Regions from separate parts of the Homo sapiens genome. Here all the other regions are linked to region 1. Evidence: promoter capture Hi-C in 16 types of primary human blood cells and fetal thymus (Javierre and others, 2016). All regions are on one chromosome and are shown on one strand. The core of a region is centred on a gene start or on the middle of the fragment in contact, and the rest is flanking DNA. Distances in the headings are between cores, read along the strand shown. Region 1 holds the start of FAM177B (family with sequence similarity 177 member B). Region 2 has its middle 110 kb from the start of TLR5. Region 3 has its middle 120 kb from the start of TLR5. Region 4 overlaps LOC124904522 (a long non-coding RNA gene). Region 5 holds the start of LOC124904520 (a long non-coding RNA gene).

Evidence for each region. The method cuts DNA at HindIII sites, captures the fragments that hold promoters and counts their contacts. A CHiCAGO score of 5 or more calls a contact.
Region 2: a fragment that was not itself captured here is called in contact with the fragment with the promoter of FAM177B in region 1 in 1 of 17 cell types (megakaryocytes); the score reaches 5.3 in megakaryocytes.
Region 3: a fragment that was not itself captured here is called in contact with the fragment with the promoter of FAM177B in region 1 in 3 of 17 cell types (naive B cells, megakaryocytes and erythroblasts); the score reaches 7.2 in naive B cells.
Region 4: a contact is called between a fragment that was not itself captured here and the fragment with the promoter of FAM177B in region 1, in 3 of 17 cell types (naive B cells, total B cells and megakaryocytes). The highest score is 7.2, in naive B cells.
Region 5: a fragment that was not itself captured here is called in contact with the fragment with the promoter of FAM177B in region 1 in 2 of 17 cell types (megakaryocytes and erythroblasts); the score reaches 6.0 in megakaryocytes.

What each region holds. Positions count from the first base shown.
Region 1 is chr1:222,735,825-222,738,524 of GRCh38, reverse strand. It overlaps FAM177B (family with sequence similarity 177 member B), which reads right to left and starts at 1,323. Exons shown (of 6, transcript NM_001394345.1): 1 at 1,203-1,323; 2 at 504-621. RefSeq lists an enhancer at 1,540-2,081. The HindIII fragment of the contact is 3,071 bases long and covers 1-2,371 here.
Region 2 is chr1:223,036,475-223,039,174 of GRCh38, reverse strand. No RefSeq gene overlaps it. Among named protein-coding and RNA genes, the nearest start is that of TLR5, 110 kb to the left of the region's middle. RefSeq lists enhancers at 485-1,164, 1,845-2,525. The HindIII fragment of the contact is 4,357 bases long and covers 1-2,700 here.
Region 3 is chr1:223,020,092-223,022,791 of GRCh38, reverse strand. No RefSeq gene overlaps it. Among named protein-coding and RNA genes, the nearest start is that of TLR5, 120 kb to the left of the region's middle. RefSeq lists an enhancer at 1-139. The HindIII fragment of the contact is 3,936 bases long and covers 1-2,700 here.
Region 4 is chr1:223,146,573-223,149,272 of GRCh38, reverse strand. LOC124904522 (a long non-coding RNA gene) reads right to left here. Exons shown (of 2, transcript XR_007066895.1): 2 at 116-1,385. Among named protein-coding and RNA genes, the nearest start is that of TLR5, 4.7 kb to the right of the region's middle. The HindIII fragment of the contact is 4,461 bases long and covers 1-2,700 here.
Region 5 is chr1:223,057,774-223,060,473 of GRCh38, reverse strand. It overlaps LOC124904520 (a long non-coding RNA gene), which reads right to left and starts at 169. Exons shown (of 2, transcript XR_007066890.1): 1 at 1-169. The HindIII fragment of the contact is 229 bases long and covers 1,319-1,547 here.

The DNA of each region.
Region 1 (2,700 bases), core at 74-2,573:
CTGGTCTTGAACTTCTGGACTCAAGCGATCCTCCTGCCTCAGCCTCCCAAAGTGCTGGGATTACAGGCATGAGCCACTGCGCCCGGCTCAGTTTAATTCTTGGGAGCACCTCTACCTTTTGTTTCTTAAAAACCCCAAATACAGACTATGAAGGATAGTTCCTAAGTATATAATGTAATTAACAGGCCATATAATCTCTCTGACCTTTTAAATATTGTATTACCCCAGGGCTCAGTGATTGGACCTCTTCTCTTTCCTATCTGCTTTCTTGATGATCTCCTTTGGCCCTGTGGCTTTCAATACTATCCACACACAGATGATTGTAACATTTATATTCTCCAGGTCAGACTTTTTCCCTGAGTCTCACAGATCCAACTACCTGCTTGACATCTCTTCTTAGTTGTCTAATGGACATCTCAATCCTAATTTGTCTAAATCTTTGCTCATGCTTTCAGTGCAACTCTCCCTCCATCCCCCCAACACACACATACTCACACATTTACCTCTACTCTTCTGGCAGCCTTCTCATCTCAATAAATGGCAACTCTGTTCTTCCAGTTGCTCAGGCCAACAACACTAAAGTCATTCTTGGTTCTTCTTTAATCACACCTCACATCAAATCTGCCAGGAAATTGTCTTGGATATTTCTGGAATCATACTTTTCATTACTCCACTGCTACCACCCTGGTCTATCATCTCTCACCCTTGCCGTCGTCTCTCACCTAGATTATTGCAGCAGCCTCCTAATTGGCCCCCTCCAGTCTACGCTCGAAAAGGAGCCAGAATTGTTAAATCCTAAGTGAGACCATGTCATGTCTTTGCTTAAAACTCTCCAGTGGGTTCCCGTCTCACCTAGAGTAAAAGCCAAACTCCTCATAATGGCCTACAAGGCTGTATACCTAACCCCTACGAGCTTTCTGACGCCATCTTGTACTACTCTCCCACCACTGACATCACTCTAACCCCACGGGCCTTCTTCCTGCAATTCCCTGACCACACAGGTCCGCCCTCTCTCTCTGCAGAGAGCTCTCTGCTGGCTGCTCTATTAGTCTTTCTTTCCTTAGACTGTTTCCTTGCTCATTTCCAGTCTTTAACTCAAATGGAGACTACACTGAGCTCCGCTTTCAAGGCAACCTCCCATTGCCTTCACCACCACCCTCTGCATCTTACCTCCTGTTTCATTTTTTCTCCTTAGCACTTACCAACACTGAACACTCCATATTCCACCTGTCTCTGTCTTCCCTTTCCTCCCTGTCCTGCCCCTTGGCAGAGGGGGAGGGTTTTACCTGTTATGTTCACTGCTGTATCTTCTGCCCCTATGATGCCTTACACGTAGCTGGAACTCAGTATTTGTTTAACAAATGAATCATACATTTAGTTAAGGTTAATGGGTGGGAGGAGTTATATAACAGATTGGAAAAATAAGAACAGACTTGTAACTGTCTTTATTTCCTGCTTTAGAAATTACTATCTTCATTTAATATTTTTCTGATTACATCTATCTACTAATCATTTCAATTAGCTCCTTCACTGAAACACAGCATTGTAATCTGTACCAAGAAAATAACACACTAGTTCTACATCTTGGCATTTAACTTCAATAAGTAAATATACTATTTTAAGTATGTAACACTTAAACATTTTCTAGAGCTCTTTCCATTTTCATTTATCTAGAAAATGTTTTCAAATGGACTGTTAAAATTCAGCTAAGAACTGATGTTGGGTCATTACGCTGGAGCTAATTAGCATTGCTTGCCTGGAGCTGCTGGTCCCCCTTCCTGCTTCCACCTTTCCTTTTTTCTGAGGTGGTTGAAAGGTCAAACCCCTGGTGAGAGGAGAGAACCAAAGCCCCACTGCGTGCCTCAGATGCAGAGTTTCACAGCGTGGTATTCACTGGGTATTCACCGACATTTCTCTAGGCCCCTTCACCTGAAGGAACTGGCCTGCTCCAATCAGTGACTTGCAGTGTGTGTGTCAGGGGCAAGGATAGAGTGAGGAAAAATGTGAAATAACAAATCACTGCCGCTCCTTGAGAATTACAGGAGCATCACCTGGCAGGATTTTTGTATCCTTATTTTCAGTATTAAACCACATACATGCACCCCACTGCCTGCATGCCTGTCCATGCCTGTCCCACTGTGGTGTTTCACAGCATTTTTTACATCATGGCAGATAGAGAAAATTAGTTGTTTGGAATTCTGGAGGCGACCAGCCTGGGAGCTCCAGCCACCTTAAGTGCTGCCCAGCTAGACACCCAGAAGGCTTCGATCAATAGCTTGAGACAAACTACTTGAGAAGCTCTGCATTAGAGAAGCAAATTCAAGTCTTGACATTTTCTCAGGGGAGTGCTCTGAAAGTGACTATATAAGCTTCTACCGACCTCAAGCAAATCACAGGCATTAGATACATTAAATTGCTGAAGTGATAGCTCTGGCTTTTTGGATATGCACAATCAAATATAGTTTTCTGTTTTATAATTTGTCAACTCCCCTTCCAGATTAACTATTTTGATCCCTTTATTACTATAACATTCTTAAATATTTAAATTTTAAGCAAATTATTCAAATGTCAAATAAAATCTTTAGATACAAACTTATGGTAACCCAAAGTGACATTCCAAGTTTATTTTACACACATTAAGAGATAAGAAACCCAGTATTTTCTAAAGCATGAGTACTCTAATTCTGAAAGAATTCTGAA
Region 2 (2,700 bases), core at 103-2,602, 300 kb before region 1:
CTGTCTGATGGGATGGTGGACACTGACTTGGCCTTCCCGGTCTGGTTTTCCCACTACCTGCTGCTTCATCTGACCCTGAGATCTTGCCATCTGGATTCCCGTGTTCCCTGCGTGGTCTGTACTAAGCAACCTGGACTTGACAGCCCCCCGCCAGACTCCACACATTCCTCTGTGCCCCAGGGACCTGGCCTTGCAGCTGCTTTTGGGCCCCCGCTCCAACCTGACTCCACCATGGTCATGGCCTAAAGAGCTCTGTGTAGGCTGCTAACTATACAAAGGCCCCTCTGTGAATGCCAAAGAAAGCGAGCAGCTCAGGGGCAGCCGACGCCAAGCAGGGCCCCGGGTCCTTGGGCCAGCCCCAGTGCCAATCCATGTCAGGCAACCATGGCATTTACACAGGCGGGCTGCCATCCTCTACGAATCTGGAAATGGGTCTGCCTGGTTACAGGAATCCCATAAACACTCATGCAGAGGCAGGCGGGGCCAAAGACCCAGAAGGCTCCCAATTTTGTTTGAGAGGAGAAACACCCAGTCCCCAAAGCCACTGAGCAAAACATGTGATCCCCACCTTTAAACACTGCAGGGACTATGTCTCACTGAGGAGGAGGCACACACGTGGGAGCTGCAGGGAGACTCAGGCGTGGAGCCCAACCATGCCCCGGGCCCAACGAAGCCCCGAGCCCAACCATGCCCAGAGCGGGCCCTCCCTGAGCAAGAGCTGTTCTACCCCAGGGTGTGGGCTCCACCTTTGCTGGCACAGCGCAGACAGGAGGTAAAGTCACCAATGGCCAATCTCAACAGTCCAGGAATGATGAGATGTGGACGCGCAGCCTCGGCCACCCTGCGCCCCAGCACTTCTCTGTCCCCAGAACTGCTTCTCTGGACAGAAGGTGTGAGGCCAACAGAACTCCTGGGTCCTCCTCCTTTGGATGGCATGAATTCCTGGGCCCACTTCAGAGCCCATACACCAGCAGAGAATGCCAGCAGGAATCTCCCCTTCTCTGTCCTCTGTCCTGGAGGGCAGCCTCCTGGAGGCCTGGGAGGAGGGAGGAGGCACTATCTTCCCATCTTGGGATTCCTCACCACCGGCTCCTGAAAACAGCCTCGACAGCTCAGGGGGAAGACGCAGTGGACACGGGGGCAGGGAAGTGCTGGCTAGAGAAGGGCGGAGTCCCTCGCCGGGGCTCCACCCTCAGGCCTGTGCCTGCGGACTTAAGTGAGAACAAGCACTCCTGTTTTTATGTCCGAATGTTGCATTTTCCAAGACCACTCTGGCCTGTCATGCCCCCCATCTTGTGCCCATAGAAACCCCAGATCTTAGCAGGCTCAGACACACAAGCGGCTGAACACGGAGAGGAGCAGAGGAACAGAGCGACAAAAAGCAGTAGGGCAGCACGGCAGAGAAGGACCTAAGGGGCCGAGAACAGCTGGACTTCAGGGGAAGACCACCTTCCCACTCCATGCCTCCTCCCGACTCTCCATCCATCTTGCTGAGAGGCACCTCCACTACTCAATAAAATCTTGCACTCATCCTTCGAGACCACGTGTGATCCTATTTTTCCCGCACACTAGGCAAGAGCTCCAGATGATAGAGAAAGCTGTCACACTTTGTCCATTGAGCTGATTAACACACAAGCCATCTGCAGATGGCAAACCTGAAAGAGCCTGTAACACACTGCTCACTTGGGCTTCGGGAGGCACGGACATCCGCCCCTAGATGCTGCGTGGGGCAGGATCCCAAAAGCACTCGCCCCAGCCTCTGTACCTTCCTGTCTGCATGCTCCCGCCAGGGGTTTGATCTGCAGGATGACCAAGCAGGCAACACCCCTGTCGCATGTCCTGCGAGGGGAATCAGGGAACTGTCCCATTTCACCAGCAGCCCCATGTCCTGCGAGGGGAATCAGGGAACTGTGCCATTTCACCAGCAGCCCCATGGCCCTCCTTGCCCATGATTTGCTGGTGGGGTAGACACAGGAGGAAGGTGGTCCATGGAGTGGGGGGTCCCACCCCTTCATGCCCACCATCTGAGAAGGCCAGGACTTCTTGTGTGGTTTTGGGAGATGAGAATCCAGCTGCTCCCTGGTCTGTTGGGCCCTGGGCAGCGCCTGGACCTGAGGTGGAATGGGCAGAGGTGCAGGAAGGGGAAGCACGCCTAGCCCTGCTGGTCCAAAGTGGGCCCATTCCTGTCGCCGTTGCACGCAACTTCTTGCTGACAGCCTTTCTTGCTGCTGCTTCTTGGCGGCAGCAGCTATAATTTCCCCATATAGCATCTAATTTGAACTTCTACAAGCCTCCTCCCCTTAAAATGCTTAATTATTATGTTCTTCTAAAATATCAGAGGGAATCTTCCCAGCCGTAAGAATTTCCCCGGAGGAGAAAAGGATAAACCAGCAATTAGTGTCATGAACTCAGATCCTGGAAACTCCATGTGGGTCCAGGGGATGTGTTCAGCCCCAGGACTCCACCTGGGAGGGCGCGCCTGCTAGGAAACCAAGGGCACGCTGACTTGCCTGAAAGGCTGTTAGGGTGGCAAGCATGGCATGGGGCTAAAGTGCACCTCTGCCTTCACTTCTGCTGCTTCTGACTCATGTTTTTCCCTGGGCGCCCTGCTTCTCTGACAGCACAAAGCCACTCTCACCCCCAAAGCCCACCAAGCCACAGTGCTCAAGCAGGGTTAGTCCTTTACTGCTTTACTTCCTT
Region 3 (2,700 bases), core at 70-2,569, 280 kb before region 1:
AACAAAGGCAGCTTCAGAGGGATTACCGGGCACATTAGATGGGCTGGGCCATTAACCCAGATGGAATTGCTCTCAGGGAGGAAGCGCCTGGGGCTGGAGGTGTTGAGGAAGTGCCTGCTGGCACCAGTGTCTAACTGTGGCACTGTGAGGAGGCTGGGGCTCCTGTTTCCTTCTCTGGAATTCACTCCTTGAATAGGGGCCTGGGTGGGACTAAGGGAGCAGCAGGCTGGGGCAAGAGTTTCCTGCTGCCTGTAAGGAGAGACAGGACCCGGCCACCTTGCATTTTTATTTGTCTCACCTTAAGCCCTGCCAGTGCCCTTGGCAGGTAGATGTAGGGAGGCACTGTTCGGCCTCAGAGCTGATGGGGATGTTGGCCTCAACCTGTGACAGATGCCTTTTGGAGGTGTCTTCTCCACCTTCCTTCTGCTGCCCAGGGAGAAGCCAGAGTGATGTTCTCGTGGCTCTGTTGCTCCTTGGCTGCGATGGTTGAACATCATCCTGCAGAGACCTGACCCCGGGGAACTGACCCAGAGGCCAGACTGGCCCAGTCAGATTGTCGCTCTTGAAATTTGCAACTCGGACTCTAACAGCCTGGGTCAGTTTGCTGCTGGAGCTGGGTGGTGCGGACCCAGGGCTGAGGGCACCATTTTGGAGTAGCCCCGACAAACCAAGTGCAAAGTGAGCAGAGAAAGTCAATCCAGAGAGAGAGAGGGAGGAGAAAGAGAGAGAGAGTGAAGGAAGCGGACACAGAGACAAACCGAGAGAGACAGCAGAGACAGAGACCAGGGGAGAGATTTCTTGCTTCCAGCCCCTTGGGAAGCCTGCCCATGGGTTCCATGAGGCACCCCAATTCTTCTCGCAAAAATCTTTTTACTCTGCTTAAAATAGACCAAGCTAGTTTCTGTTCCATAAAAGTCCGTCATTCAGGGCTGAGTGTAGTGGTTCACGCCTGTAATCCCAGCACTTTGGGAGGCCGAGGCAGTCAGATCACCTGAGGTCAGGAGTTCAAGACCAGCCTGGCCAACATGGTGAAATCCCATCTCTACTAAAAATACAAAAATTAGCTGGGTGTGGTGGCATTTTCCTGTAATCTCTACTACTTGGGAGGCTGAGGCAGGAGAATCACTTGAACCAGAGAGGCAGAAATTGCAGTGAGCCGAGATCATGCCACTGCACTCCAGGCTGGGAGACAGAGCAAGACTCTGTCTCAAAAAATAAAATGTCCATCATTCAAATAAGGTTCATCCATGGAGGTAGCTAAGGCCAGGCTGCAGGACAATGCTGAGCCCAGAGGCCAGGTCAGAACCAGGGATGTCCAGCCTGGATGGTACTTCGTCTGTCTCCAAGGAGTCCTGGGAGCTGAGGGGAGCACAAAGATCACAGACTGGCCTTGACTTTGGTCCTGATGTGGGTGGGGGCGTGTGTGGATCCTGTGAGGTCTACAAGCTGCCTCTTCCCTCAGGAATCCATGACTTCGTCCGGCCCATTGGCCCCCAGCTCTGCTCACGGCCATCAGAGATTTTGGGCAATGAGACTTGCTACCTCCACCCTGGCTCCTTCCTGATATCAGGGAGCAATTGGCCAGGGAATAGCCCAATATCCAGTTTCTGGGAAAGGTGGACAACATTATTTGAACCTGAAACATGCCAGAGGTAATCAGATCAGTCACAGAAAACTGAGAAGCCTGTAATTTATGGAGAAGAGCTTGGAGACAGGAACCACCAGCCCTCTCCAGTTGTCCCTAGGGGGTGGGGAAGGTGCCAACATGAAAGATTCACCTACCCCTGGCAGAGTGACCCTCTCTCACTGAGGGAGCTTGGGTCTGATCCGTAGGCAGGGACAGAGGGCTGCAGGACTTCACAAGTTTCTGTTCCCACCAGGCCGGATCAGACTGGCTCCAAGGACAGCTCCTAAGCCTCAGCGGCTGTTTCTGAGGTCCTGGAGCTCTGGATGGCTGCTGGGGGGTTCTGAGGATCTTTGTCATCCCAGATTCCCCTGCGATACCCATGTTAAGTGCCTGAGCCACTGGGCCTCCCAAAGGCCTTTGGGCTATTTCTGGCTGTTTTGATCCACCATGATGGGGGCACCTTCTCCTCAACCTCATCTCCTGGAGAAAGCCCTGGTCAGGATTTTCCCAGCCCAGACCTCAGTTTACCGGCCAATTACTTTCTTATGAGAACCCTAAAAGTTCAGAATTCAAAGATGTTGAGGGACAAATAGAAGTCATGTTTATAAGGAGGGAAAAGAGGATGCTGGTGGTGGATCTCTGGTCCCATCACAGAGACGAGGGGAGATGGGTTACTTGCAGGCCTCGTCTCTACGTGCTGGTTTACTGGAAGGGAACAGGAGAGGGTGAGGGATTGAGGAATGCAGACAGGAACTCACCTTTATTGGATTCCTATTAAATCTCATTTAATCCTTGACGTCTTCTTATAAAGCATTACTGCATTCCCTTTCAGATGAGGAAATTGAGGCTTAAAGAATTGAGTAATATGCCTACGCTCACGGGTGTGTGCTACTCTACCGCTGTAGGCAGACATACCCGGGTCTGGCCTCCCCACCTCACTCCTCATCATCAGCCTCCCATTGAAGTTTGGCAGCACTCATTAAGCCATTTAATAAGATTTACATACAGTCATGTGCCGTGTAGCAGCATTTCTGTCAATGATTGGCCACTTACATGATGGTGGTCCCATGAGA
Region 4 (2,700 bases), core at 40-2,539, 410 kb before region 1:
TCATAATCCTATTTTAAAGACTTCACATGATCTCTATCACCTACTCTGCCCTTAGGTCATTGATGACCTGCTATATTTATTTTCTTCTATTGCATAACAAAATACAAGAAATTTATTGACATAAAACATTAGCCTTTTATTATCTCACAGTTACAAGGAGTCAGGAATCCAGGCATAGTGTGGCTGGGGTCTCTGCTCAGAGTCTTACAGACTGAAATCCGGGTGTTTGCTGGGCTGAATTCCTTCTGGAGCTTGGGGTTGTGGGCAGAAACCAGTTCCTTGTAGCTGTAGAAATGACATCCTATTTTGTCTTTGCTGGTTGGTGAGAGTCACTCTTAGCCTTTGAAGGGGGCCATGCGGCTAGGACCTGAGGTAAGTAGTTCATAACAAGGCCATTTGCTTCTTTGGGGCCAGCTGTGAATTACTAGACAGTCTGCTCAGATGGAGTCTCATATAACAGCACCTAATCAAGGGAGCAGTGATCCCATTATAGTCACAGATCCCACCCACAAAAATGGAGAGGGGTGCCAAAGATGGGAATCTCGAGGGCCATCTCAGAATCAGGTCTGCAAACCTGCAACTTGTCGCATCCAGTCGGGAAACTTCACTTCTTTTGGTATTTGACTCTAGAACAGTTGGCACCATTGGCCACTCCCACCTTGAAATTCATTCAATGACTCCTATTTATTTATTATTTTTATTTTTTATTTTTGGCTCTCACTATGTTGCCCAGGATGGAGTGAAGTGGCTATTTCTAGGTGTGATCATTGCACACTACAATCTTGAGCTCCTGGGCTCAAGCATGGGACACTGAGCCCAGCCCAGCTTATCCATTCTACTTTTGATGACCATTTGAGGGATCTCTAGTTTGGTGATTTGTATTAGTTATCTTGCTGTGTGACAAATCATGCCAAAACACAGTGGATTAAAACACCATGTATTATGTGACAGTTTCTGTAGATTGAGACTCCAGGCATGGACTCTTGGCTAGGTCCTCTGGCTCTGGTCTCTCACAAGACTGTAATCAAGGTGTTAGCTGGGGCTATGGTCTCATCTTAAGGCTTGAGCTGGGGATGATTCGATGCTGAATTCGCTTAAGTGGTTGTTGGCAAGAACCATTTTATCACAGGCTGTTAGACTGATGGCTTCAGTTCCTCACCAGCTGTTGGCAAGAGGCTTCCCTTGAGTCCTTGCCATATGGGTCCTTCCATAGGGCAGCTGACAATATGACAGCCAGCTTCATGAGAGCAAGCACGCAAGAGGGCCAGAGAGAGAGTGTGAGCAAGGCAGAAGTCACATCCTTTTGTAATCTAATCTCAGAAGTGATATCCCATCAATTTTGTCATGCTCTATTTGTTAGAAGAAGTTGCTGGGTCCAGTTCACACTTAAGGAGAGAAGATTACAGAAAGGCATGAATATCAGGAGGCAGAAATCTTAGGGAGCCATCATAGAAGCTGTCTAGTACAAAGGATATAACAAACAATGCTGCCTTACAGATTTTCGTATATATATTGTGGCATATGAGCATATCAGGTTATGCACCTAGGCATGGAGTTCCTAGGTCTTAGGGCATGTGAATCTTCAAGTTTCCATGACAGTGCCAAACTTCTACCAAGTGGTTATACCAATTCACATTTCCACTAGCAACAAGTGAGAATTCTGTTTGCACCATATCGTCACCAACACTTTTTATTGTCAGACATTTTATTTTTGGCCAATATGATTTATATAATATGTGATGTATTATAGCTTTAATTTGCATTTCTAAGATTTCTAATGAGGTTTGGTACTTTTTCATTTATTTATTGGTCATCTTATATTTCCTCTTTTATGAAGTATCTGCCTGTATCTTTTGTCCATTTTTCTACTGACTTTTCTTACTGATTTGTATGAGTTCTGAAGATAATCTGGATGCTTGGGCTGTGGCAGTTATATGTGTTGCAAGCATCTCTCTGGTTTTGTTTCCTATCTTTTTATTCTTTTAAATATGTCTTTTGATGAACACAAGGTCTTCATTTTAAGGCAGTTGAATTTATCAATCTTTTCCTTTATGAACTCTTGGACTAAGCCTGTCTTCTAGCTATTGTTTTCCGCCTATGTCTCCAACTGTCCCCCCATCTTTGATCCCCCCATTGTCTCCATATAAACATCTTTTCTATGCTCTGGACACATGACTTCAACTGCTCACTCGATGGCTCCACCTCCATATCCCACAGTCAGTCCAACACCAGTTTATCCCAAAATGAACTCATCCCTCCAAGTTCACCTTCCGCCACCCTACCACCCCTAGCTTGTATTTCCTAACTCCATGACTGACACAACTATCCACCAATCACAAAGCCAGTGTCTTGTGAATTTGCCCTGACTGCTCTTTCTCTTATAAGGATCCAGTTTTTCTGATTCTACAATCTAAACCTTGCCCCACTCTGTCTTCTCCTCTACATCTCCAGTGCCAGAATGTAAGTTCCATGAGACCAGGGACCTTGTCCAGCTTGTTCATTACCACAATATCAGTAAGGGATGGTGCTTAACAGCATGAATTTTGCAGCCCAATTACCTGATTCAAATCCTGACTCCATCAATTATTAGGTATCTAAGTAAGTGGAAGTTATATGACCTCTTCTCCCGCAGTTTCCCCATTGGTAAAATGGGGGATGATAATAGTACTGATTCATAGGGTTGTGGTGAGGGTTGAATCA
Region 5 (2,700 bases), core at 184-2,683, 320 kb before region 1:
AGCCTGGCCTCGGCTAAATGTTGCACCTGGGGGAATGACAGCTCACTGCACTTCTCATGGCTGATTGGCAAGTTCCTTCTTGGAGAGAGATCCAGTGGACACATTTCCATGGTTGTTGCAGGAAGCCTACAAGCTCTTCATGAAAGATGAAATTTCCCACTATGAAATTCTACAAAGAAAGCATTACATGAACCTCTTATAAGGAGCAGTGAAAAATACAGGAAGAGATACAGGAAGAGACATTGGAGCAAGGCATGATTTGGTGGTTTATTGTAGTGTTTGTTTTTGGTTTTCTAATCCATTTTGTGAGTATATTGAGTAAAGGATTTCCTTGCTATTAGCTAGTGTATATCCTGTAAATTTTACATTAATCTGATAAAGTCCATCTTTCCTACAGACCCTTCAGCACCCATAAGCACTCCTACAAATACAAAACTATGCAAAGAGGACTTTTTCTTTTTTTGAGATGGAGTCTCCCACTGTTGTCCTGGCTGGAGTGCAGTGGCACAATCTCAGCTCACTGCAACCTCTACTTCCCAGGTTCAACCGATTCTCCTGCCTCAGCCTCCCGAGTAGTTGGGATTACATGCTCCCGCCACCACGCCCAGCTAATTTTTGTATTTCTAGTAGAGATGGGGTTTCACTATGTTGGCCAGGCTGGTCTCGAATGCCTGGCCTTGTGATTCACCCACCTCGGCCTCCCGAAGTACTAAGATTACAGGTGTGTGCCACTGCGCCCAGCCGCAAGGAGGACTCAAATAGCAGGGCAGCTGGCCACATAGGATCTGGGTCAACAGTGGCTTGCTGATATTGCAGCTGGGAGTAAATAAGTCCATGGGAGCCTCATGGGTTCTCCAAGCCCTGCACAGTCTCCAGTCTCCGCCACACATACACATAGGATCACTTACTGTCTGCAGTTTTCCAAAGGAAACATCCAGAGTCCAACCCTCTCACCTCTGAGTTCCATCCTCTGTCCTGATGAAATTTGAATGAAATCCATGATCTAAGTCAAATTACCTATGACAACCCATCAATTATCAGTGCTATGCACCTAATTTGGAGAAACAACTGGTATTGAAGAGGACATAAGTCTAATGTTAATCAAGCATGGACTCATGGAGAACCAGGACAGCCACTTTGTTCTTCCTGAGTCCTTAAAGCTTTTGTTATTAAAAGTTCTGCATTCCATGACTCATCATGGGAAAGACAAAATAATCCAAATTAAATATATTGGTGTGGTAACTTATAAATTGCTAAAATAGCTTATAACCAATGTTTGGTTTGTTAACCCATATTCCTGGGAAAAACAATCAAAGCTTCAGGTACATTTGGTTACCTGATGGGCCATTTAAACATTTTATAAAAGGATTTCATTCAATTGTTATTTTCGGTGCATGTTTTCTAGTTGTATAAAAGCTCTTCCGTGCAAGAGTGCTGATATTATGTAATAGATTATTATGCTACATGTATGAAGCATAATAATATAATAATAATAAGATGTAGTAGATTACTGTGTTACAGTATATTTTCACCAGGTAAAGAAAGCTTTTTGTGATTCACTGAGGACAGTCAACCCCTTCATCATCTAGAACCTGAAAATTGCATCTTCTGAAAACATCAGAGAAAGACTGTCCTTGCCATTCACACTGCAACAAAACTTTAGGATCTTGAAACTTGGGTTCATAATCGCACAACTGAGAAGGGTCCCTCCACGCTCTTGGAACTATACACCCAGTGGAAACTTTAAGGTAAAGCTAACCAAGGAAGTCTCTCCCCAGACGAATATGGCAACCTTGATGTGAATGGCTTTTCCTAAGATCGTGGATGAAGACTTCTACTGTCATGAGACTCTTATCTTTGAAAATTTTTTCCTTGCTTATGCCTCTGTGAACAATAGAAATGAAGAGGGTGTCTGCTGCATGCACTTATGGGGTATACTTTTATTTGTGAAGGATTTTGCAGCCAGCCTTATACATGGATAACCTTATACTTTGATAGACAAAAGATGAAGGCCCGATGTGGGGAACTTTAATGGTACATACGTTGCCTCATAGTCAGTCAGAAACAGTACATTGGTTCACTCCTCTTAACCCGTATCATGGATTAAAGAGAACATTGCCAGGAGGCCTTCACTCTTCTAGAAGGGCATCATTTGTTAGGTCCTTTTTCCATGTTTTTGAATAAAAGAGGTGATGATCAGAGATGTATCCCTTACAATAGGCTCTATAGCAGATTTTACTGTAAAGGCTGTAGTTACACAGAAGACTTTCAATTCTCTTGTGAAAGTTAAGGTAAGTAATAGAACTGGCTAGACAGAAAAGTGTCTATGTATCTGCTGGCACTTCTGGCCTAGGGAGATATACATAAGGTATTACAGAGATTCCGTTGTAGGGGATTAACAAAAAGACCACTTAGTTAAGCGAGTGGACTGTTTAGCTTGCTCTTTGATCTATTTGATTTTAGGTGGTTTGGTTTTTGGGAACCCTGGGTAAGGAGCATATTCCAAACTCTTGTTATTATCCTGTAGATAGTCATAATAACAGTCTCTCTGGTGCTCTGTGTTCTCTCAAAGGTTTTAATGCTTGCATGCAGCCAACTCTAGAATGTTAAATGGTCTCTATTCAACTGTAATGACAAAAGCTGAAAGAAATGTGTGACCAGGAGGACACTGTAAGCTATGAATGACATGCTGAGAAGGGA